Linked DNA regions of Homo sapiens: regions 1, 3 and 4 are each linked to region 2. Evidence: promoter capture Hi-C in human tissues and cell types (Jung and others, 2019). All regions are on one chromosome and are shown on one strand. The core of a region is centred on a gene start or on the middle of the fragment in contact, and the rest is flanking DNA. Distances in the headings are between cores, read along the strand shown. Region 1 has its middle 620 kb from the start of IGFBP3. Region 2 holds the start of IGFBP3 (insulin like growth factor binding protein 3). Region 3 has its middle 530 kb from the start of IGFBP3. Region 4 has its middle 560 kb from the start of IGFBP3.

Region 1 (6,817 bases), core at 3,969-6,468, 620 kb before region 2:
AGTCCTTGAGCCTGGAGGGATTAAATAGTTTTGAATTCTGAAGGTAAAATACAACATAAAGAATCAGCAATGTAAACAGAAAGGTCATAATCCCTGCCTAGTCTTAGAAATGACAGGAAAGGGGAGGCTGAGGCAGGAGAATGGCGTGAACCCAGGAGGCGGAGCTTGCAGTGAGCAGAGATCACACCACTGCACTCCAGCCTGGGCAACAGAGTGAGACTCGGTCTCAAAAAAAAAAAGAAATGACAGGAAAGGAAGCTCACAGGTAGCTAAACATATAAATTACTTAGTATCAAGGCACAGAATAAATTATATTTATTCAAATAGAGGCAAAATTATGAAATGAGTCTTAATGTTTTTGAACAGAGTCCTGTCCCTGTGTCCTCATGAAAGCAGTTTACTTTGATTGTCACCTTTGCTTGGGTCTAAGACAAGGTTTGGTTAACTTGAGTTTGGCGTCAGATAATGGCAGGAGTTGGTGCCTTCTTTAGATGAGATATGTGTACCCAGCAGTCAAAGCCTGTAACTCAACAGCACAAGATTAGTTAATAGTCCCTGATAAGGATCTTTACAAGAGGCTGAAGGTGGTGATACTGGAGTCCATGACTTGACTGCAAGCTGTAAAAAGATTCTACAACCTTGCAGTGATTAGCTTTTATAGCTTTAATAAGTCCCCAGTAAATAAGGCTAGGTCAAATACTTAATTTAGAATTTTGATTTTGAGGACATTTGTCAAAGATGTTAAAAGTCTCAAAACATTTGATCAAAATAGAATCACAGGTCATTGCAAAATAAGTTACTCATTTCACCAAAGTGATAAAAGACTTTAAAGGCAATACAGAAGGTTACATGGATGTGAAAATTTTAATCCTCTTAAATCTTGGTTTTTCTAAGTAATCAAAAATCAAATAAAGACAACATAGCAATTATCTTGATAAAATATAAAATCTTGGTTTTTTTCTTTGTTTTTATTTTTTTTAGTCAGTTACCAAAAAGGTAAAGAAAAATCTTCTGCAGTGTGGTTGTTTTTCCTTGTGAGAAGTCCATTTAGGTAACCTGGTAGTCAAACCTGCTAAAAGAAGTACTTGGATTTAATCAAACACAGGGAGAGTGTGTTCAAGTTTATGAGTAAAGCAAAGAAATATATGACTCTTAGTAATTCCATGAGAAGCCTCTTAATTATATTGAACAATTTAGACATGAGATGCTGGGGTGAGCAGATTGCTTGGGCTCAGGAGTTCGAAACCACCCCAGAAAACATGGCAAAACCTCATCTCTATAAAAAAAAAATACAAAAATCAGCGAGGCGTGGTGGCATGCACCTGCAGTCCCAGTTACTTGGGAGGCTGAGGTAGGAGGATCACTTGAGCCTGTGAGGTAGAGGTTACAGTAAGTTGAGATCATGCCACTGCACTCCAGCCTGGATGAGAGAGTGAGACTGTCTCAAAAATAAAAAAGAAAAAGAAAAATTTAGACATACTAAGAAAAGCCAAGAGTACAGAATTAAGTTATACTGCAGGAAAATATTGCTTTTCTGGACACTTTAAGATAAAACATTTTATTATCAGACCACAAAACAGTAAAAACTAAAGGAAAATAAATTACAGAAGCTGAAGAAAAAGTTGAAGGACAGAGTTACTATCTCAGCCCTTCTCAAGGAGAGAAAAAGCTGAAAGCAGCAAAGGAACTTCTGAGATATGAATCTGAAAGGTTTTAAAAAGAGACAGTCTATAGAATTAAAAAGCAAAACCTCTTGTAATTTTATTAAGAGCAACTTAATTCCTTAAGAAAACTTTGTTTTAATACAAGGGACCAATCTTCAGAAAGACTATTGTATAGATAGATAGATAGAGCAATCAACAGATAGATCAATAGATAAATTTTAAAATTATAGCCAAGTTAATTTTAGAAATGTTTTTCATAAATAACTTTTTAAGTCGATAGTTTTAATTTATCTTCAGATAACTTTTGAATTAGACAAACTTATTTTAAATAAGAACATAATGCATAAAATTTTTATAATTAATTTTGTATTAAAACATGTTTTTTGTTAACCATTTTTAAAGCCTGGGAACATCAGATGTTCACCAAAGTAGAATCTTAAAGTTAAACACATGAGCGTTTTGCTAATCACTCAGAACATGTAGCTGTTTTTCTTAATAATATTAAATTAGCTTTATTTTTGTCATGGGTTTGTAGCTATGAGCTTTTTAATCATCCAAGATATGGCCTCACAAGCTCTTAGGTGGAATAGAAATTGAGCCACCCATTCTCAGGGTAGAGAACAGAAGAGCACAAACACAGAGAGATCAAAGCAAACAAAGGAAGTCCTCTCAAGCAAATTCCTATAGAGGGAGACTGGAAAGTTAATAAATTGTAATTCAAAGCAATGGGTACCACAAACGAACTATGTTAGGTCCAAATGGCACAAAGCTCAAAAGGCAGACAGGATTTCTGGTAAGCACACCAGTTCAGCTTCTGCAGTTCTGAGGCCTGTCGGCTTCCCAATCCCCATTTTCTTCACACCAGTGCAGTGTTGAAGGCAGCTGATACCACAGTGGGGAGACAAGGGGACTCCCTCAGAAAAAGAGTTCTCGGCAGCTGTTGGGTCATTCCTAGAATCCCAGCCATCAGGTCAGCTGGCCAGGAGCAGCAATCATGAGCAGTTTTTGCTTTGCCCAACAGCATGAACAGGTAAGCCTTGGCATGCTGCCGCATCCAAATGCTCCTTCTGTTGGATACTGGGCAGGCTAGATAGCCTGAGGCATGTAGCCCCATGCTGGGCACCTGGCTATTGTAAGCAAACTCAGGATTGGCTGCTCACTGCTTGAAAAGCCACATACAGGACAACCAAAGCTGGGTGGAAGCAAAGCAGCTTTATTCAAGTGCTAGCCACTTAGAAGACGGCCAGAATCAAGTCTCAAAAAGCTATCTTGAATTCTCAGGTGGGCTAAAGGAGCCTTAAAGGGAAAGGTAGCACGGAAACAATGTGCAGGAATGGTGTGAAGTGTAGGTTTGCTTGTCATTTTTTGATGATAGACTTGAGTAATGGACCATCCAGAGACCTGGTTGGTTTTATCTCACTAGGGATCCAGTTATGGATGAATTGTGCATTGATTTCTTTTGCAAAGGGAGAAAATTGCTATCAACATCTCTGCTTCATGCCTGGATTTTTCCAAGATTAGCCTTTAGAATTCTCAAGCAAACAGGTAGTTAGATATATGTGCGGCAAGAAATAAAGTGAGAGAGGTGATACATTTGGAGTACGCTGGCAAACTGGCTATGCCAGTTACATAAGTGGTTATTAAATGAATGAAGGCATGAATGAATGAAGTTACCCAACATTTAGGCTTCTCCTACATTAAAATAAAATATATATATATATATATATATATATTATATGTATATATTTTATTTTAATCCTACATTAAAATAAAATATATATATATATATATTATATGTATATATTTTATTTTAATTAGAGAGCTTTGAAATCCTTTTTTTTTAGCGTAAACACATAGACAATATATTTAGGCTTGATTTCTTTCTAGAATAAAAACTATCATCGATTTCCTAAAATATGGCAAAATGCTAATTGAAAAATAGTCCCAACATTATTTCCTATTTAAAATTACTTAAATATCTTAAATATTTTAATCACTTACTTAGCTATTCCATTTTCCTTATGTAAATTTGAAATAGCTTTGAATAAAAACATACTACAATTTTTAGACAATTATACATAAGTAAAGGTAAAATGGGATAAAATGTAACTAGTGGCTACTAATTTTTGAATGAACATTAGTACATGGCATTATTGTTGCAACTTCACATTTTCAAAGAATTCCACAAGGTAGACATTTTGCTGCCAATTTATACCCCAGAAAATTAAGGCTTGCCAGGCTTCGCAACTGTACACCAATTACAAGTGGCAAACTGCTATAGGGTAGTGTCCTGCCCTTTCTACCACAGGCACCCTCTCCCCACATCATGAGGAAGAATCAGCAACACACATGAGATGCAGACCACAAAATTTCACTGAGCTTCAATGCAGACAGGAAAAAGAGGGGAAAAAAACGCTTATTATATAGTATTTCCCCAAGAATGTTTTATAGAACTCTAAACCTGAAAAGTTGTTTTGTATTTCAAAAGAAAGAGTTTTCTTGGCTAAAAAAAGTTGTCCTCAGAGCCTGCATTTTCCAGAACTTCACAACGTACATCAGAGTGCTAAAGGCTTGGTGCTGCTTTCCAGTTACATCACAATTAACTGTATTTATCCAGGTTTTCCCAAATGTATTTAACCACAGCGCCTTTTGAAAAACAAAACAAGGGGCGGGCGTGGTGGCTCATGTCTGTAACCCCAGCACTTTGAAAGGCCGAGGTGGGTGGATCATGAGGTCAGGAGTTCGAGACCAGCCTGGCCAACATGGTGAAGCCCCATCTCTACTAAAGATACAAAAAATTAGCTGGGTATGGTGGCAGGTGCCTGTAATCCCAGCTACTCTGGAGGCTGAGGCAGGAGAATTGCTTGAATCCGGGAGGCGAAGGTTACAGTGAGCCGAGATCACGCCATTGCACTCCAGCCTGGGTGACAGGGCGAGACTCTGTCTCAAAAAACAAAACAAAACATCTTAAATCTCTCACAGAACTAAAAATAAATTAAGCAAATTTAATTAAATGCTGGCCAAGTAGGAGGTGTCACACCAGGTCACTAGTAGAAAAAACTTTTCCTGGCAATGAGTTCTGGGTGGATTTTGAATGGTTCCATAAATAAAGTGCATTAGATAATGTATATAGTAGAAATTTTATTTAAAAGAATGCAAAAATATGCTGCGACATATTGTTAAATCTACATGTCATAAATTCTTAAATCATAACTCAGTGGAGACAGGTTTAAGAGGACCAAAGTAGCATTAGTCAGATCTATAGTTTTGGAGTATACTGACTTTTAAATTCCATTTGTCAATTAGAGAACAATATTTTCTTCCCAGACTACAGAGCATGATATACTTGGCATATGTGAATTTCCATTCAAATGGAGCCTGCCGGGCATCTGCTGATTCACTTTGGTTTAATGATACCCCATTGGTTCAAGGGGGAAAATGTTTATGGAAATATTCCCTTCTTACCATCTTTCATCAAAGTTCACTGGGCTCCAGAACAAGCTGCCATCCAAAGACTTCTAAAACAGAAAAGTATCATGTGTGGTTTGTACTCGTTTCAGAGACGTGATGATGGCATTCTCTTTGAAGTACATATGAAGTTGTCAATTAGCTGGAGATGAGTTTTGCAGAACATGTTTCTGGATTATCCAGTCCAAAAACATCTTCAAAAATATTTTAGTTATTTTGATGGATTCAAAATACTTCCAGTATCTTTTCTAATTCCACACCAGTTTTCTGACTCAGCCCTTCCACTTGGTAGAAGAGAATGTAGTGAAAACTGAAGCATGTTTGAATGCTGTGAGTTTCTAATTTCGAAAATAGCTATTCCCCTGCAGAGATCTCCTTCACATTTCCCACAAGGAAGTTTGAGACTCTGGCTTGGCACAGCACACCACTGTGCATGAACGTCCTGAAATGGCATGTGCCTGAGATTCTGTTAATCTACCATATCCATACAGATGGGTGTTGTTGAACTGTCTTGGTGAGAGACAGGACTAGCTGGATTTCCTAGGTCGACTAAGAATCCCCAAGCCTCGCGGGGAAGATGACCGCTTCCACCTTTAAACACAGGGCTTGCAATTTAGCTCACACCTGACCAATCAGATGGTAGAGAGAGCTCACTAAAATGCTAATTAGGCAAAAACAGGAGGTAAAGAAATAGCCAATCATCTATCGCCTGAGAACACAGCAGGAGGGACAATACAATGATCGGGATATAAACCCAGGCACTGGAGCCAGCAACGGCTACCCTCTTTGGGTCCCCTCCCTTTGTATAGGAGTTCTGTCTTCACTCTGTTAAATCTTGCAACTGCACTCTCTTCTGGTCCATGTTTGTTACGGCTCGAGCTGAGCTTTCACTCGCCATCCACCACTGCTGTTTGCTGCCGCCACAGACCCGCCGCTGACTTCCCTCCCTTTGGCAGGGTGTCCTCTCTGCTCCTGATCCAGCGAGGTGCCCATTGCCGCTCCTGATCGGGCTAAAGGCTTGCCAATGTTCCTGCGCTGCTAAGTGCTGCGTTCGTCCTAATCGAGCTGAACAGTAGTCACTGGGTTCCACGGTTCTCTTCCATGACCCACGGCTTCTAACAGAGCTATAACACTCACCCCGTGGCCCAAGATTCCATTCCTTGGAATCTGTGAGGCCAAGAACCCCAGGTCAGAGAACACGAGGCTTGCCACCATCTTGGAAGCGGCCCAACACCATCTTGGGAGCTCTGGGAGCAAGGATACCCAGTAACGTTGGGATATATCTAGGCGTTGTTCAACATAGAGCACAAGTGCTGAAACTCCCCCTTTAGCTGGAGCTGAGCAGGTTCTGCACAAATTATTTTTGGTACAAGTGAAAGAGTGAAGGTCAGTTATTGGGTTATATTAGTTTGTCCTCACATTGCTATAAAGAAATACCTGGATCTGGGTAATTTACAAAGAGAAGAGGCTTAACTGGCTCACAGTCCTGCAGGCTGTACAGGAAGCATTACGGCATCTGCTCCGCTTCTGGGGAGGCCTCAGGAAACTTACAATCATGACAGAATGCAAAGGGGGAGCAGGCAAGCCACGTGGTTGGGGCAGGAGCAAGAGGAAGAGAGGAAGGTGCGGCATATTTTTAAATGACCAGATCTCATGAGAGTTTCACTCATTGTCATGAGGACGGC
Region 2 (6,398 bases), core at 3,786-6,285:
ATCCAATAGAATTCAACTCAACAAAAAGGAACGACCGATTTACACATACAATAGGGATGAATCTCAAAATAATCATGCTGAGTAAAAGAAACCAGGAGAAAAAAAGTAGATGCCATATTATCTCACTTACATAAAATTCTGGAAAATACAAACTAATCTAGTGTGACAGAAAGGAGATCAGCGGCTTCCAGGAGATAAGAATGGAGAAAAGGAGGGCTCAAGATTATGAAAGGTCAAGAAGTTTTTGAGGATGATGGAAAGGTTCATTTGTATGTTAGCGATTTCCTAAATGTATACATATGTCAAAACCTATCAAATCATACACTTCCAATCTGTGTAGTACATTGTATGTTAATTATACATCAATGAAAAAGAAAAATCTATCTCTCTGTCTATCAAATTGGAGAGGCACCATGGAATCTGTGGATTATGATCTAGGAAATCCAGCAAAAAGGGTCTGCCTCCGTCTCTCCATCTCCAGTGAAAGGGATAGATAACAGGACTCTCAGGACTCTTCTAGCTATGATAGGAGAGCTACTGGGAATCTTCTCCTTTCTATCTGGCCTTGCAAAGCTGGAAAAGGAGCTTGAAGTGGCACCAAAGATGCCCTTGGGTAAAGACACAGGATTGACACTGGTGCCGGGGACAAACCAGCTGAATGAAAAGTGCTCCTAAAATCTTTCCTGTCCCCTTTTAAGACTTCACTGGGCAGGGAAAGACCATACTAGACTGTTGGCCAGTTTGAAGACTGTATGTCATGCCCACAGGTAGACTCAATTGTTAGCATGTTGACATTTGAACTAAGGAGACAAGGTATGTGGGCTGTGTGCTAGGACTCATTTGAGAATAAAACCTTTAAGATTGTTCAGGTGGCTATGTGAACACAAGGATGAACTTTTATTTCCCATTCCCCAGGCAACACTGTGTCTAAGAGTTCATCCTTCCATCAGTGCTGTAAGATAGGTACTAGTGCCCTTACCTGGTCCTAGAATTGAGTTGCAGAACTTGCCCAATGTCAGAAAGCTATTGAGAGGAGAACTGAGCAAGCAGTTAAGAATAAACTCTAGTCTACTGTGATTGAAGTCCCCAGTCTCTCTCATTGTTCTGAAGCTTCAACCTTGAAGAAAAGTTGGAAGTTAGACAGAGTCAGGAATTGCCTCTGTTTGAATGACCAGGAGACACAGAGGTAACTCTTATCATGTAAATGACTAACTGTGTAGGCAAGGGTGTGGGTGCCCACATGTAGAAGGTAGCACTATTGTGAGAGAAAGCCATGACAGGAGTATCATTGTCCTGAGCAGAAACCTCCCTTCCATGGGGTGGGCTCCCAATGTCCAGGCCCCTTCTCTGGAGCATCTATCTCCAGATTGTCTGACGACACGGGACAGCACTAACTCTGAGGAGCCCCTGTCTCTGGACCATGGATTTCCACTGCCACAGGTACCACTGTCCCCATCCAGTATATCCAGTTACCTTCTCTTCTCTTCCAAATCTCAGAATTATGCCTTCCACAGGTCACATGCACAATGCCAACACCATCCCCTCTGAGCCCTCCCCTCGTCCCTCCAGGCACACAGAATGACTCTCTGTGGATGCCCATACTTTCTTCTTGCCTGCCTCTCTCAGCTGGACTCTCCCACATTGTTTAAGACTCAATTCAAATGCCACCACCTCTCAGAAGTTTTTTCTGACCACACGGACAGGTTTGCCATCCCTCCAGCAGGGTTATAAATGCACCCGGTGAACCTCTCTGTTTTCTCTGCTGTCACACTGCCTACCACTGTCTGGACTCTGGTGAGTCACTCCAGCCAGCCTGTGAAATCCTGCAGCTGGCACATGGAGGTGCTTAGTAATCATTCTTGGACTAAGTGGATAGATGAACTCTTAATGATGTTATTTGTGAGTAAAAGTCATTTGCAGTGTTGTTAGCCACCGTGATGTTGGCAGTTGATGGTCCCCAATGCATCCCCAAGCCCAGTATATGTAATTCCGGGAGGCTCACCCAGCAGGCGATCTGATGGAGAGAAAATTAGATTTCCTGTCTCCACCAATACGTCCCCTAAAGGGGAAAAAAAACCTGAAGCTTATAGGGTGAGAGCCACTGAGTCCTAGCAACTGGGTCCCCAACACTGCTTGCCTTTAGAAGTTTGGCTCTTTCTGTTCTAAGTCTATTGGTGGTCAGTAAGACTGATAGCCACACCCCAGAGGACACTGAGAAACAGTAGTGCTGTCAGAAGGAGAGAGACCCTAGGGTGGCTTGTCCAGCTGGGGGCTGAGCAGAAGAAAAGCAAAGGAGCCAGTATCACGCAGCGACAAGGTGCCCTTTAGCAGCAGGAGTGGGCTCAAAGAAATGAGTGGTTTAGGTCACCTGGTGAAAATAACGAGGCTGACCAAAGGAAACACTAATTATAATCAGGTCAGCTGGACTCCGTTAGTGAAAAGAGATCTATGCAGCCTCCTGACCTCTATTCGGATGGTTATTCGCTACTTTTGCAATGATTAGCAATTGTATGCCAAGCACCTTCACAGGGGGTAAACATCTTTCTCACTAAATACTAGTTTATGTTAAAAACTACAAACACCAGATGAATTGGAAGTTTAACAGAATTAACGAGCATGTCACAAAATTAAGTTTTATCCAGTCCAAATCCTTCCTGCAACAATTATGTTCCGGGAGGGGCAGGGAGCTTGCAGTTATCAAATAAAACTGGCTAAATAACAAAACACAATTCTCCCCGTGTCACTGCCTCAAATTTACTCTGCTGTTGCAAGATGTCATGATAAAGGTGATGGCAATCTATATAAAACATTGTTATTGGAATAGCCTTTGAAAGTTGAAATGTGACTTAGTCTTTACGTGTGTCCCGTGGTCCCTGAGGCCGGGCTGGACGCCTGGAGCTTTGGCGCCCCCTAGCCATTCGGCACTGAACAAGTTTCTCCAACTGCAATGCGAGGGAAAAAAGAAGAGAACCAAGAATAAAACAAATTTTTTAATCCTTTCCAAAAAGACATTGTTTCTGATCTTCCCCTGTCCACTCTCCAGATGATAAAGCTGAATAAAAAGTGCTACACTAACCAGTGGTCAGTCCAGGCTCTGCTGCAACATTGCACTAACCAGAACTGCAGACCTGGGACCTCAAGAATTGCATTTGATGCCGAACCCAGCTCTAATTTCAGAGTCAAGGTCTCTGCGAGTATTTAAGGAACGGATGTAAACCTGGGGGATTCGTTTTGTTTCCTTCAATTTTCCAATGAAATCAGAGATCCTGTTCTTGGGTGTCAACGCAGATACTAGAAGGAGGTGATACAAGAGAAAGGAAACAGCAAGCGACGATTATGGCACGGTTTCCTGTAAACAAGGTTGAGTGTAGCCACAGCCTGAGCACTGTGGGAGAAGAGCTCATAAGAAAATGACGGTGCTGGGCCTTCGTCACCCCGGGGCACTCCATTGTTCTTGTCTTTGGTCTCTTTTTATTTGTAGAGGTCCAATTATTTATTTATTTAGTACAAGAGGGAACGAAATTGATCTTTCCATTCTAAAAGGAGAGTATATATGTATAAAAGGAAGCTGTATAGATATGGGGGAAGAGGTGGACAGGGGGAAAAGGGGAGAGGACGAGAGAGAGAAAGGGAGGGAGAGGGACAAGGAGAGACACTGGGCGAGAGATCGATTAGGAGAGACAGAAATGATGAATGAAGATTAACTTCACCCAAGGCTTCGTGCTGGAGGGGAATGGAGGAGCTCCTGATTTGCTATTACTACTCCAAACTGCAAAGGGCTCCTTCAAGTCACCTATCCACCTCCTAAGGCAAGCGTCCAATTTCAACAGCGTTCAGGAAAGTCTCCTCCCGCGGAGGTCTCACCGCTTCCCACTCCACCCCCACAAACTCTTTGGAAAAGTGCCTTGAAAAATTTAATCCTCAATCCAATCCTGGACCACCAGCGTCCTCTGTTGGTCACCGAAGGGAGGGGGTGCGCAGACAAAACTGAAGAAACTCGAGTGCCAGAGAAGGCCGACAGGAGTTACAGCGACCTCAGCGCGCAATTGCGCCCCCGAACTTTACTGAAAAGTGTTTAGATTGCAGAGATAAGCTAGAATCCCAACGCATCGAGAATACAGTAATACGAAGTCGCCTTCAAAAAATGACAATGAAAATTGCCTATTAAAGGACTATTTGGTTAATTACGTTTCAGCAGTGCCCAGTTTATTGTCTTTATTATTCTTTTGTCATGGGTGTAAACTCCATTTGAAAACATAATCAGGGAGAATACCCAAGACAAGAAGAACAGTTGTCATTTAAAATATTTGAAAAGCCCTGCCTTAAGGACGCATTCGCTTGCCGGTCCACTCTTAATTGGAGACTTGCGGTGTAGCAACACGTGAGAGTCTTCTTGCGTTGAGAAGTAAGCCTGGAAAGGGGCGAAGGCCCCGGGCGCATCTTCAGATGCGTATTTGTGGGCCCCTGGGGATATAAACAGCCCAGCGGGTGTAAATTAAACCCCGCAGTGCCTTGGCTCCCTGAGACCCAAATGTAAGTCAGAAATGTCCCAAGACTTCGCCTGCCAACGGAATTAAATTTTAGAAAGCTCCACGAGGTACACACGAATGCGGAGCGCTGTATGCCAGTTTCCCCGACACCGGCTCGCCGCAGGGAGACCTCACCCCGAGAGCGGAAGGGGTAAGGGCGGCGGGGTCAAGGAGATCGGGGGTGCTGAGTTGGCCAGGAGTGACTGGGGTGACCGGGGGTGCTGAGGTGGCCTGGAGTGCCGGGGTGGCCGGGCACACCTTGGTTCTTGTAGACGACAAGGTGACCCGGGCTCCGGGCGTGCGCACGAGGAGCAGGTGCCCGGGCGAGTCTCGAGCTGCACGCCCCCGAGCTCGGCCCCGGCTGCTCAGGGCGAAGCACGGGCCCCCGCAGCCGTGCCTGCGCCGACCCGCCCCCCTCCCAACCCCCACTCCTGGGCGCGCCGTTCCGGGGCGTGTCCTGGGCCACCCCGGCTTCTATATAGCGGCCGGCGCGCCCGGGCCGCCCAGATGCGAGCACTGCGGCTGGGCGCTGAGGATCAGCCGCTTCCTGCCTGGATTCCACAGCTTCGCGCCGTGTACTGTCGCCCCATCCCTGCGCGCCCAGCCTGCCAAGCAGCGTGCCCCGGTTGCAGGCGTCATGCAGCGGGCGCGACCCACGCTCTGGGCCGCTGCGCTGACTCTGCTGGTGCTGCTCCGCGGGCCGCCGGTGGCGCGGGCTGGCGCGAGCTCGGCGGGCTTGGGTCCCGTGGTGCGCTGCGAGCCGTGCGACGCGCGTGCACTGGCCCAGTGCGCGCCTCCGCCCGCCGTGTGCGCGGAGCTGGTGCGCGAGCCGGGCTGCGGCTGCTGCCTGACGTGCGCACTGAGCGAGGGCCAGCCGTGCGGCATCTACACCGAGCGCTGTGGCTCCGGCCTTCGCTGCCAGCCGTCGCCCGACGAGGCGCGACCGCTGCAGGCGCTGCTGGACGGCCGCGGGCTCTGCGTCAACGCTAGTGCCGTCAGCCGCCTGCGCGCCTACCTGCTGCCAGCGCCGCCAGCTCCAGGTGAGCCGCCCGCGCCAGGTGCGCTGCGTGCAGCACCCGGCGCACTGGCGCCGAAGGGCCTGGGGGTTGCTGGGTGCCGCTGCGGGAGACTCCGCTTTTCTTCTCACTGGAGATAATATGTGGGGAAACTGAAGGCGCTCCGGGAAAGGTGAAGGCGGTCGCCGGAGGGACCCTCCCCAGCCGGCCCTCTACTTGCTCGATTCTCTAAGTGCAGAGTACTTGTAAATTGCAAAGCGCTTTCAGTGAAAATGGGTTAAAGGTTTCCGGAGCTGAGGGGAGCGGTACCGATGTTTAGCTGTTGGAAAGATCCTGGACACAGGAGATTCTCCTCGCCCCGCACGGGGGTGCACACGGACTGCAATCCCAGGGATGCTTGGGGATGGGGGGGATATAGGCGGATTTGGACCAAGGAAGGTGGGCAGGCACGTTGTAGGAAATAGTACCTCTCTTTTAAAATACTGACTTTGCACAGCCTTTTGGTTTGCAAAGCAATGTCTAGTCCCGGTATGTCCAAAAACAAGTAAAGTGGATTCGGGTTTTGATATCTTCTGCGGTTGGAAAACCTGAAGCTGAAAAAGAAGTAACTTCTTAAGGTTACCCAGCGGCCACAACAGAGTGTAGGTTTGAACTCCGCGTGCCACTTTCAGTACCATACCATTCTTACAACTCGGGCCACCCCTGCACCTGCGCCGACCTCAAACAAACTTCCAGGTGCGTGGTGGGTGCGGGCAATGTGGACTAAGTCAATTTCAATGACACGGAAGGGAATTGGAATCAGTCCTAGGGCTGTCTCCCTTCTTAATCTGAAATGGGGGGGGGAATGAGATGT
Region 3 (6,315 bases), core at 3,137-5,636, 530 kb before region 2:
TTCAGCCAGAAGTTCCATTTTAACATCTTATTACACTCATTCTAGGGCAATTTTTGCCTTTTCATAAAGTATCAAGAATAATATTTGGCTACAATTCCCATATCTGCAAAGATCAAGCAAACTTCTCTGTAAGTTAGTAACTATTATTATTATTACTGCTACTACGACTAGTCTAGGAGTTTCTAATGGTCCTAAAGGAAACCAAAACTATTTAACCCCAAAATATACTTCTTTGACATATTTTGAGATGGCTGTTCAGAGGTCCTGCAGATAAAAGTAGCCTTGCAAAGCTGTCTTTTGTGGGGGAAATTTCCTCAGTAGAGGAAATAAAGTGAAATAAACAATGGATGCAAGTAGGCTTTCTCTGGAGGCCCCTGTGTCTGGATCTAGAAAAGATTAACTGAGAGTCTGATACCCTTAATGGTCTGATGAAAACCATTACCACTGATTACCATCTACTCTCTCTGAGGGCTGCTACCTGGGGTTTCATCTGCGTGAAGTTTCCAACTGCTTTTGCCCTACACTTTTCCTTTATTCCCTTTCCCATAACCTGTCTTGCCCTATTCCAAGCCCCTCTTCTTTCTGTAACCTCAGGATGGATGAAACTTGTACCATCTGGTCCTTTCTTTGAGTTTTCTTATTTTTTATGACTTCCATTTACACATGTGCATGTAATATATTTGCATGCCATTTTTCCTATTAATTTGTCTATTATCAGTTTGTTTTATATATTCAAATTATCCAGACTTCAACGGGAAAATTTAAACTTTCCTACAGTCCCAACACACTTCTGTGAGCACTTTTAAAGCTCCTGGGATGAAACTACCTTTGCCAAAATTAGAACAGTGAGAAAATTATGACAGTGAAAGAGATCTGATCTAGCAAAACTGTCTTGCCTTTAACCTCTTAACTACCCTTAATCATTCCTGGGTTTAGGCCAAGATAACTTTGGGAGACATTTAGTTTATAGTTTAAATAATAATAATAGTCCTTCCCCAAAACTAAACTGACTTTGTAAAGCTAGTGAAAAACCATCAGGTTAGATGGATGAGAAGCCTGAATTCTGCCAAGGTATAGACTTAAAAACAATTACCAGCCATTATTCCGGATGTCACAAGATATGAAATTTCACTAATTACTCCTGCAGATAACATCATTATTATGGAACTGAAGATTAGCCTTTGAGATGTCTTTTCAGGTTTTTGCATTTCTAATGATGATGGCTCCACCTGGACCCACCAGCCATCCTGTGGCCCCACCCAGAAGAGAACCACTATCCACACCCCCATTCCCTTGCCCGCCAAACTATTCTGGAAAAACCCTAGCCCCCAAGTTTTGGGGGAGTTGATTTGAGTAATAACTTTGTCTTCCAGGTGGCATGGCTGGCCTCATGTCAATTAAACTCTTTATCGAAGTGCTGTGGTCTTAGTCAATTGGAGTTGTTTGTGCAACAGGCAGTAAGAACTCGTGGGGTGTTTACAGGGAGAGTACCAATTAACACAATAGTTACAATGAACACTCAAGATGTGAGATATAATAATAAATATTTTATTTGTGCTTCTCTGCCTTCCCCTGCGAGTCACCATTGTGAGTCTCTTTATGTCTTTGAATTTTCTGTTTTTCTACTTTTTACTGTATTTTTCTTGATTTATAAAGATAATACATGCTCTTTAAACAAAACTCAAATATTATATAACTAAGAAAAATAAATGTTTCAATAATTTTATCTTTTAAGTTAATGATATTGATGCAAATTATTTCACATTTTTCTTTTACATACTTCTCCCATTAAGAATTAGCTATTTTATTATTATTAGCTCCTTTATATTAAATAATGGAATCACTGAATATCTAGAAATCAACAAATCCTTTCTAGATACCATGGTTAAGCATAGCTTGGCTTGGTAAGCAAAACACATATTCTGAATACTTAAAACCAAAATCTTTGGGATGTTTTTTCTCTTGGCTCATGTGCAATTCCATAACACTGACGCATAACATTCCATTAAGTTAGATGCCAGTGGGAAAGTCTCACGTGACTATGCTGCATGTTCAGTCTCTAGACACACTCTGTCCATGTCTGCAGCTGAGCCTTTCCCTTAAGCATTTTTCTGACCCTGGACACATCTGGACTCCTGCCGTGGTGTGAGCACCTCACAGGCCCTGCCCTTGTTCAGTCTGTGTCTGTTTCTCTAACTCCAGGCACAGTGCCTGGGCTAAACTGAATAGATTCTCAAGAATTCTTGTGAAGCACAGTAATAGGTACATTTTACAAGGAAAACCAAGAAGAAATGCAGGTTGATATATATCATAAGCCAAAATTCGGGTGTGCAGATTGGATCCAAGAAGTGTGTGAGTCAAATGGACTACGACAACTGGCTTCACTCCAGCAGCTTGATTAGAGCCCTGGGCAAAGAAGTGTCTGGTACTCTCTGCCACACCACACACCTTGGCATGCTTAGGTTCCAGGGCACCGTGGGTAATCCTTGGCACTATTTTTTTTTTTTGAGATGGAGTCTCGCTCTGTCGCCCAGGCTGGAGTGGAGTGGTGCAATCTCAGCTCACTGCAAGCTCTGCCTCCCGGGTTCATGCCATTATCCTGCCTCAGCCTCCAGAGTAGCTGGGACTACAGGCGCTGGCCACCACGCCGGGCTAATTTTTTGTGTTTTTAGTAGAGATGGGTTTCACCGTGTTAGCCCTTGGCACTATTTTTATATGGTACAGCCATAAAATGGAATGAGTTTGTAAAAGTGAGACCCTATGATGAAGAGTTTGTGACTGTCAAAGCTGTGGACAATGTTAGGGTTAAAGGGAGAGCGCATTCGCTATTTTCCAGTATCTAAATAGAGGTCATGTAGAATTGAAGACCACTCTCATTTGGACTGACTTCAAAAGATAAATTTATAAGATGTGACAAAATAAGATTTAGTGTATTATGAGGAATGTTCTATATGATTCTTCAGGTGCACCCTGTCCAGTTGAATCCCAGTTGCCTGGAGGGATGACCCACTGATTAGTAGCCTTTACAGCTTTCCTTCCTCCCATGCCTCACCTCCCTATTCTCTCTCTTGTGCTTCTTGGGGAATCACCTCCAAACGGAACCTCTTGCACTTAAGATCTTGCTTCAGGATCTACTTTTAGGTAGAATCTAAACTAAGACATCTATTCCTGCAGGTGTGGGGCTAGGTTATGGAGTATATCCTAGTCCTCACTGTTGAAGAGCACGGTCTGTTTGGAGCAGATGGACATTACAATGAAAAAGGACTGTGAGAGGGATTCCATAAGGTCATAAGACACATGAAGCAGGTGGTAATCAATTCCACTCAGGATGCTGAAAGAAGACTTACAGAAGTGTCCCCTTGAGAGGGAACTTGAAGAATAAGCAGAAACTGACCAGGCTCATAATAGATTAGCAGTGTTTCTGGCACAGAAAATGCCATGTGCACAGAGAAGGAGGCTGCAAGCAACCACAAGACAATCAGGAGTGACTCCAGGAAGACTGAACAGCAGCCTGGGAAGCCACGGGAAAACAGAAGGAGACGGAACTGCAGAGCTTGAGCTTGCCAGGAGCAGAATGTAGAAAGCCAAGCTCTGGGCTGTGAGAATTTGGCTGCTATAGTATAAGCAGTGGGGGGACTTTAGAAGATTGAAATTAATAATAATAAAACAAATACAAAGAGAGTAACATAATCAACTGCCATTTTAGAGAGCGAGAACTTTATTTGCAATGTGAAGAACATGAATTGTCAGTAGGGAGTTCAGAGAATAATGTATTAAAATTATACCCCTCAGAAATTATTAGTGTCTTGTCCAGGATAGGGACTGTAGAAGGCAGAGAAGAAAGAAGGGTTATGAAGAATGTATTGGAGATACAATCAACACCACGTAGGATGGATTGAAGGAGTGTATGTATAAGTGCATGCACATCTGTGAATGGTGATGCATTGATAAGAACTATTAAGGCAGACACTTAGATTTTGCTCTTGGGTGATTGGAGCAGTTAGGAGATGTGACTAAGTAAATATGTAGCAGATGAGATAACTCTCCAATCATCTGTTGACTCTGAGCTGGAAATGTCCGGGAGACAGTTGGGAACATCTCCGCGGCCCAAGGGAGAAGTCCAATCTGTGCACATGGATTTCTTCATCCTCTGTACAAAGAATAACCCTAGAAGAATAGAAGAGAAAAAAAATGCCAACTCTGAAGAACATTAATTAAAACAAATTTCAGATTTTATGGTAATGACTCCATGGTTTTCTATTACATGACTATTAACCAGCCCTTAGGAAATGGACGTTTGTTGTCAAGTATTTCAATTATATAAAGAACATAGAGTTCATTATAGATTCTGGATATTAGACCTTTGTCAGATGAGTAGATTGCAAAAATTTTCTCCCATTCTGTAACAAATTTACAAGAAAAAACAAACAACCCCATCAAAAAGTGGGCAAAGGATATGAACAGACACTTCTCAAAAGAAGACATTTATGCAGCCAAAAGACACATGAAAAAAATGCTCATCACCACTGGCCATCAGAGAAATGCAAATCGAAACCACAATGAGATACCGTCTCACACCAGTTAGAATGGCGATCATTAAAAAGTCAGGAAACAACAGGTGCTGGAGAGGATGTGGAGAAATAGGAACACTTTGACACTGCTGGTGGGACTGTAAACTAGTTCAACCATTGTGGAAGTCACTGTGGTGATTCCTCAGGGATCTAGAACTGGAAATACCATTTGACCCAGCCATCCCATTACTGGGTATATACCCAAAGGATTATAAAACATGCTGCTATAAAGACACATGCACACATATGTTTATTGCGGCACTATTCACAATAGCAAAGACTTGGAACCAAGCCAAATGTCCAACAATGATAGACTGGATTAAGAAAATGTGGCACATATACACCATGGAATACTATGCAGCCATAAAAAATGATGAGTTCATGTCCTTTGTAGGGACATGGATGAAGCTGGAAACCATCATTCTCAGCAAACTATCACAAGGATAAAAAACCAAACACCACATGTTCTCACTCATAGGTGGGAATTAAACAATGAGAACACATGGACACAGGAAGGAGAACATCACACACCGGGGCCTGTTGTGGGGTGTGGGGAGGGGGGACAGATAGCATTAGGAGATATACCTAACTTTAAATGACGAGTTAATGGGTGCAGCACACCAACATGGCACATGTATACATATGTAACTAACCTGCACATTGTGCACATGTACCCTAAAACTTAAAGTATAATTTAAAAAAAACACAGAAATTAATATACTTGTATATATGTCTTTTCCAACTTGTAAAATTAGCTTATTGAGGTAAATTTATAAAATAGAGCTGTACATGTTAAATTCTTATATGTAGAGTAGTATCAGTCAGGATTTTCCAGAGAAACAGGAACAGGATATATATATTTTTTCAGTGAGAAAGAGGTTTTTTTTTTTTTTTTTTTTTTGGAGAGAGGGAGATTTAAGGAGTTGGCTCATAGGATTGTGGCAATCCAAAACCTCACAAGTCTGAAATTTGTAAGGCAGGCCAACAAACTTGGAACTCAGGCAGAAATTGATACTGGAGTCTTGAAGCAGAATTTCTTCTTCCCCAGGAAACCTCAGTTTTTGTTCCTAAGATCTTCAAATGATTGGATGAGGTCCATTCACATTATAGAGGGTAATCTCCTTCACTTAACGTCAACTGATTGTGGATGCTAACCACATCTATAAAATGCCTTCACAGCAACCCCTAGATTGGTGTAGGATTAAACAGTTGTCTACTGTAGTCTAGCCAAGTTGACACATGAGACTAACCATTACAAGTGCCAACATGCTCACTATAAATTTCTACCAATTTTACACCCCCACTATTACTATTGTTTGTGTATTTCTGCAAAACTTCAAAACTAAGATTGTCTTTTGAAGTTTTAATCTTGCCAATTTGATATGTCTTCATGTTTTTGTTTTATCTGGTTGCATTTTATACTTATTGCCAACTTTAACTCTTCTTTTGTAAGATGCCTTATCTCATGCTTTCTTGCGGTATTTTTATGCCTTTTTCTTGCCCATTTACATTTTTGAATCATATAAACGTAAAGATATAATGAGAGGAATAAAGATCCAGCTTTTTGCCCTAAACATCTAGCCAATTGTTCTAATGATTATTCTGTAATCCATCCTTGCTTTGTTGTTTATTATAAGGCAACTTCCTCATATACTCTGTGACTTGTTTTTTTTCTTCAATCGGTTTGGACATAGCAATAATTTTATCAGCATCATATCCCATGAAACAGATGTCATAATTCATG
Region 4 (6,378 bases), core at 2,034-4,533, 560 kb before region 2:
CTAATAAAGCTAAAGGTGAAGTTTCTTCTTAATATTTTAAAATTCCAAAGCACATATTTTCTACATGTAAGCAGATAATCAATCAATATTTCAATATTTTTCTTTCTTTCTTTTTTTTTTTTTTTTTGAGACAAAGTCTTGCTGTCACCCAGGCTGAAGTGCAGTGGTATGATCTCTGCTCACTGCAGCCTCTGCCTCCTGGGTTCAAACAATTATCCTGCCTCAGCCTACTGAGTAGCTGGGATTACAGGCATGTGTGCCACCACACCCAGCCAATTTTTGTAATTTTACTAGAGATGGAGTTTCACCATGTTTTCCAGGATGGTCTCGAACTCCTGACCTCAACTGATCCACCTGCCCCAGCCTCCCAAAGTGCTGGGATTACAGGTGTGAGCCACCATACCTGGCCATCAATCAATATTTCTTAAATTAATACATAAATAAATGCATGAGTGGGCAGAAGGATAGATGAATTTCACATTCTGTGTGAAGAAGAGTTTACTTGACAGTAATTTATACTTAAAAATACAAATGCAGGAGTCATGAAATCAAAGCTGGGGTTCCCTCACAAACCATCTAGTGTCTCTATGGGAGTTCTTCCACTGGGAGAACTGAGGTAAGGTGCCCATGGCCTCCCAGCCAGTAAAGAACACATCTGAGCTCAAAGAGGTGCTGTTTGCCTTTACACCCGGCAGGTAAGAAGAGCAGAGTCAAAGACAAAAGGAGGAATGAGGGAGCCTTGAAAGATTAAATTTCAGAATTAGTCATGACTGGCTACTGATGGTCATGTTCCCTTCCATGCATATCACTTGCTTTTACTGTTTGAAAATTCTCCACATGTATCACCTCATCTCCGAGTCCAAAGATAACCTGAATAGGTGATCTGGACATCAGTTAAAAGGTAAGGAGATGAACATCTTTCTTTATGGACATTTGGATCTTAATATGTTTGTAAAGCATGCAAACATCTTTTAAGCTCTGTGTTCTGCACCCTTGAGAAGATGTCTGTATTGCAGTGGTTCTGAAACTGTGGTAGCCACATCAGCAGCATCAGCAGCTCCTGGGTGCTGGTGAGTAACACGAGTTTTCAGGCCCCACCCGAGACCTAGTGAGTCAGAACCTCAGGACTGGGCCCAGCAGCCTGCGTTGTGTCAAGACTTCCAGCTCATTCTAAGGCACACTCAAGTCAGAGAACCACTGTTGTGTTATTGGTGCAAACATCCCAACAGAGAAAGTTAGACATACAATTTATGAAGACGTGGAAGAATAAGAGATGTCAAGGTATCTGTAAAGGAAGAATAAAATCTTATTTAGATTGTTAAAGCCCAGCAAATATGTAGTGTTTAATTGACATCCAGGAAGGTTGAGTCATTTGTCAAAGTTCACACAGCCTCCTAGGAGTTTAAATCATTATGAGTTTAAAAAGACATTTAGAATGACTACTGAGAATAAAAATGAAAAAGGACAACAAAAAATATTAAATAGGAAGCGATTCCAAATGCTAGGAATTGCTAAAAGAAGCTAGAGAGGAATTTATCTGTCAAAGCAATGCAGTTTGCTTTTTTCCACCCTGCAGTACTAAATCATGCTTTTAATTCAATAATGGCATGTAAGAATAAGCTCATTAAATGAGTTAAACTTTTGTGACCCTGAAAACTAGTTTTCTGCATGTTGAATCTGTTGAGAGCACAGCTGAGACCCATCTTCTACCATCTCTGTTGACATTTTTATCAGGTAAGAGGTCACTATGGTAATTATAGAAGAGAAAAATATAAACAAGTGCATATTTATTGTATTTCAGATTTTATCTTCTGTGTCTTCTATCCTCATAGGATGCAACTATCTTTCACACTGATAAGAGTGGCCTTCCTCCATGTTCACTCTGTCAAATGCCTTGTCACTTCATGTTGGATGATAATGTCTATGTCCATGTGAATGAAAGATTCAGACAGGCACAGATTTCAAACTCTCAGCAATTAAGAACAAATAAATTTTGTAAGTAAGAAATCGAAATTTTTTAAAAGCTTAACATTTGTTTCACTTATTTAGAAAATATGATTTTAAGCATTTACACCCTTTTTTTAAACATTAAAAATTGCGATGAGACACACCAATGTATGAGCCTGTTTATCACGTGGCCACATAAACTCAGGAATGGAGGAAATGTGATTGATGTAAATTTATAGTAAGTGGTTAGTGACTCAGGTGGTAGGTTGATAAAAAACTACTCAGAAAAGGCAGAATGGACCTCAGGCTAACAAGGCTGGATTGTATATGTTTAAATATCTTTAAAGATAATGCATTGGCCAAAGAGTCAGGGAATTGCCATGAACACAGAGAAAAGACAGTAGTTGTGGCAGAGGCAGATAAGACAATTGACCCATGGACAGCAATTGCTACTTTGCAAAAACCACAGCTGTACTGCCCTGACCACGCTTTTTAGATTACCTGCTCTCATTTTTTTCTGATCCTGTATCTCATAAAGCCTTGCTTTTGCCAGTTTTCCAAATATGGGAAAAAAATGCCTGGTCAAACCACTGTGCATTCCAACCTGCAGGAGGATTTTTGTTTATCTTTGTGAATTAGTAACACTGGCATTGCTGTTGAGTTCATTTATTCATCCAAGTATTTCCTTAGAAAGGAGCTTCCTGGGTTTCTGAGATAGTGAGCTCCCTGGTAGGGGAGAAAGATAGCATGCAGGTGTTACTATGACTTACTTTGGAAAGCGACCCAGTGGGACACAGCCCAGGGCAATGATCTACCTGTCAAGGAGGAGGTAGTGGCACCAACTGCACTTTGGAGAAAATGACACCCTTGAGCTGGTTCTAAAATGACAAATACAGTTTGGCCAGCTTTGTGTTTTTGTTTTATTTTGCCTTAAAGGAGTAATAGGAAAGGACTTTGAGGCAGAGAAGGGGACAGAAAAGCAACCCTCTAAGTAGAGTGCCCCATGCGGGGGGTGGTGTTGGGAGAGGAAGTGTTTCCACTAGTAGCCTTCGAGTTGTGATGTGGAAACTTCCACCTGCAGTGCCCAGGGCAGGGCAGAGAAGTCAGGCTTCAGGGAACACTAGGCTCTATTCCACAGGCAGATGTCAGGAAGGAGGAAGTGAAGAGTCAGCAGAGCACTTCACTTGCTGGTAGCAGGTGGAATATGGATCGAGAGACAGCCAATGGATTGAGAGGTGGAACATGGATTGGTTGAAACAAACAATAGAAATATTGTGTGATCCACAAAGGCAATTTTAAAATTCTTTAATAGCCACAAGAAACAAGTGAAATAAATGTGATAATGTAATTTATTTAACACAATACATTCAAACTTTTGTCATTTAAAATGTCATCAGTACACAAATTTATTAATGATAGTTTACACTTACTCTTCTTGTACTTGGTGTTTGAAACCTTGCATGTATTTTACACATAAAGCATATTTTTATTTACAGATGCTAAACTCATCACAATTACTCGATCTGTGTTTAGATTTCATTAAATTTAAAGTTGAAGAGTACATTCACATGCCGGAGTTTTTCAGAGATTCTGAAAGGGTTTTTTTCTCTCTCTTTTGTTTTTTTGTTTTTCTGTTTTGAGATAGAGTCTGGCTCTGTTGCCCATGCTGGAGTGAGGCAGTGTGATCTTGGCTCACTGCAACTGCCACCTCCTGGGCTCAAGTCATCCTTCCACCTCAGCCTCCCGAGTAGCTGTGACCACAGGCACATGCCACCATGCCCAGGTAATTTTCTGTGTTTTTGATTGAGACAGGGTTTCACTATGTTGCCCAGGCTGGTCTCAAACTCCTGAGCTCAAGCAATCCAACTGCCTCGGCTTCCCAAACTGCTGGGATTACAGGCATGAGCCACCATGCTCAACCAGAGATTCTTAAGTTTTCTAACAACTGAATTCAGTATCTATATTTTCTTGATTTAATGCAATTAAATACTACTAAAACTTCAGATAACTGGTTACACCAGTCACATTTCAAGTGCTCAGTAGCAACATATGGCCATTGGCTAGTGTATTGGACAACTCAGGGATAGAGCAAAGAGACTTGGAGGATAGGATCCATTTGGAAGATTTATGTTGTAGTCACAGAAATTATGACAACAGTTTAAGCAAGGTTAATCATAGAAGAATGAATATGAGATGGAATATTGGAGAACTATTAGAAGGCATAATGGACAAACTTAGTAAGAGAGAAAGGGAGTAGTCAGGCAAGTCCCCAGGGAGCTGGTGTGAGGGAGTGAGCAAATGGTGTTCTCCCAGGAAGACTGTGTGTGCAGGAGAACACAGGAGTTGAGAGAGAAAGAACGACTTCTACTTTGGACAAAGCAATTCCAAGGAGCCCATGGTACTCTGAAGCAGACTGACCACACACAAATAGCCCTGGAGGATTAGTTATTTGAAGAGGGTTGGAAAGTAGTTATTGAACTTTGAGAGCTATCGGCAGGTGGTAGTCAAAACCCGCCAGGCTCTATGAGGTCTTTGTTGAAGTGAGTCCATCTCTGAGGTGCACATCTGCTTCAGCGCACAGAGAAAATTAGAGTTTGAGCCTGAAGGGTCCTGGCACAGATTGTGGCCTAGGTTAATTTGACTTAAGTACTGCCTGCTGCTGACATCTTGGTAGGCAATTTGCTAGTGTCTTCGGGAAACTCCTAGATTCATAACTTTGTTCCATATTTGTCTTCCAGATTTTGCAGGTGTCATCTGCTTGTCATCAAAGGCTTATATGCAAATATATTTAAGAAACGTTTTCCTTTCTTTACTGATCCCTAATAGATAGTAGTTATGTGTCTGGTAGGTTACATGCAAATTAAACACATATGAACGGGAGAATTCAAATACACTGAGGAAAGCTCTAGATACTAGATGTGGTGTTATTTTTGTAAATGTAAAAGCAGTCACAAATTGTACAAGTTACCACTAATTAGTACAGAAATTTAATGAAATTTTTTTTAGTACAGCAAATAGGAAAACTCAGTTTTAAGTTTGCATTTTATAATATTACAATCATTAAATATGAACTCAATTCAAATTGGAGAAATTTAAGCTTTAGAATGAAAAGATTTATTTCTACTTTTATGGAAGAAAGTAGAATTCTTTCATCATTACTGTACTTTTTAAAAATTATTTATTATACTTTAAGTTCTGGGGTACATGTGCAGAATGTGCAGTTTTGTTACATAGGTAAACATGTGCCATGGTGGTTTGCTGCACCCATCAACCCATCAACTGCATTAGGTATTTCTCCTAATGCTATGCCTCCCCTAGCCCCCACCCCACAACAAGCCCTGGTGTGTGATGTTCCCCTCCCTGTGTCCATGTGTTCTCATTGTTCAACTCCCACTTATGAGTGAGAATATGCTGTGCTTGGTTTTCTGTTCTTCTGAAAGTTTGCTGAGAATGATGGTTTTTAGCTTCATCCATGTCCCTGCAAAGGACATGAACTCATCCTTTTTTATGCCTGCATAATATTACATGGTGAATATGTGCCACATTTTCGTTATCCAGTCTATAATTGATGGACATTTGGGTTGGTTCCAAGTATTTGCTATTGTGAATAGTGCCACAATAGACATACATGTGCATGTGTCTTTATAATAGAATGATTTATAATCCTTTGGATATATACCCAGTAATGGGATTGCTGGTTAAATGGTATTTCTGGTTCTAGATCCTTGAGGAATTGCCACACTGTCTTCCACAATGGTTGAACTAATTTACACTCCCACCAACAGTGTAAAAGCGTTCCTATTTCTCCACATCCTCTAGAGCATCTGTTGTCTCCTGACTTTCTAATGATTGCCATTCTAACTGGCATGAGATGGCATCTCGTTGTGGTTTTGATTTGCATTTCTCTAACGACCAGTGATGATGAGCATTTTTTCATATGTCTGTTGGCTGCATAAATGTCTTCTTTATATGCAGAAAACTGAAACTAGACCCATTCCTCACACCTTATACAAAAATCAAGTCAAGATGGATTAAAGACTTAAATGTAAGGCCTAAAATCATAAAAATCCTAGAAGAAAACCTGGGTAATGCCATTGAAGACATAGACATAGGCAAAGACTTCATGTCTAAAACATCAAAAGCAATGGCAACAAAAACCAAAATTGACAAATGGGATCTAATTAAACTAAAGAGCTTCTGCACAGTAAAAGAAACTATCATCAGAGTGAATAGGCAACTTGCAGAATGGGAGAAGATTTTTGCAATCTATCCATCTGACAAAGGGCTAATATCCAGAATTTACAAAGAACTTAAACAAATTTACAAGAAGAAAACAAACAACCCCATCAAAAAGTGGGCAAAGGATATGAATGAATACTGTACTACTGTTAATAAGAATCATATATAATAATTCACAAACATTTCAGGGCT

What was found. Contacts are between HindIII fragments. The study calls those that stand out against the background at their distance.
Region 1: a contact is called between a fragment that was not itself captured here and the fragment with the promoter of IGFBP3 in region 2, in 1 of the 25 tissues and cell types used here (IMR-90 fibroblasts).
Region 3: a contact is called between a fragment that was not itself captured here and the fragment with the promoter of IGFBP3 in region 2, in 1 of the 25 tissues and cell types used here (mesenchymal stem cells).
Region 4: a fragment that was not itself captured here is called in contact with the fragment with the promoter of IGFBP3 in region 2 in 1 of the 25 tissues and cell types used here (heart right ventricle).

The regions. Positions count from the first base shown.
Region 1 is chr7:46,536,016-46,542,832 of GRCh38, reverse strand. No RefSeq gene overlaps it. Among named protein-coding and RNA genes, the nearest start is that of IGFBP3, 620 kb to the right of the region's middle. RefSeq lists an enhancer at 5,595-6,094. The HindIII fragment of the contact is 6,696 bases long and covers 1,871-6,817 here.
Region 2 is chr7:45,919,909-45,926,306 of GRCh38, reverse strand. It overlaps IGFBP3 (insulin like growth factor binding protein 3), which reads left to right and starts at 5,035. Exons shown (of 5, transcript NM_000598.5): 1 at 5,035-5,569. The coding sequence starts at 5,167. RefSeq lists enhancers at 4,071-4,651, 4,652-5,232. The HindIII fragment of the contact is 8,943 bases long and covers 1,598-6,398 here.
Region 3 is chr7:46,452,195-46,458,509 of GRCh38, reverse strand. No RefSeq gene overlaps it. Among named protein-coding and RNA genes, the nearest start is that of IGFBP3, 530 kb to the right of the region's middle. The HindIII fragment of the contact is 7,921 bases long and covers 426-6,315 here.
Region 4 is chr7:46,481,775-46,488,152 of GRCh38, reverse strand. No RefSeq gene overlaps it. Among named protein-coding and RNA genes, the nearest start is that of IGFBP3, 560 kb to the right of the region's middle. The HindIII fragment of the contact is 5,060 bases long and covers 754-5,813 here.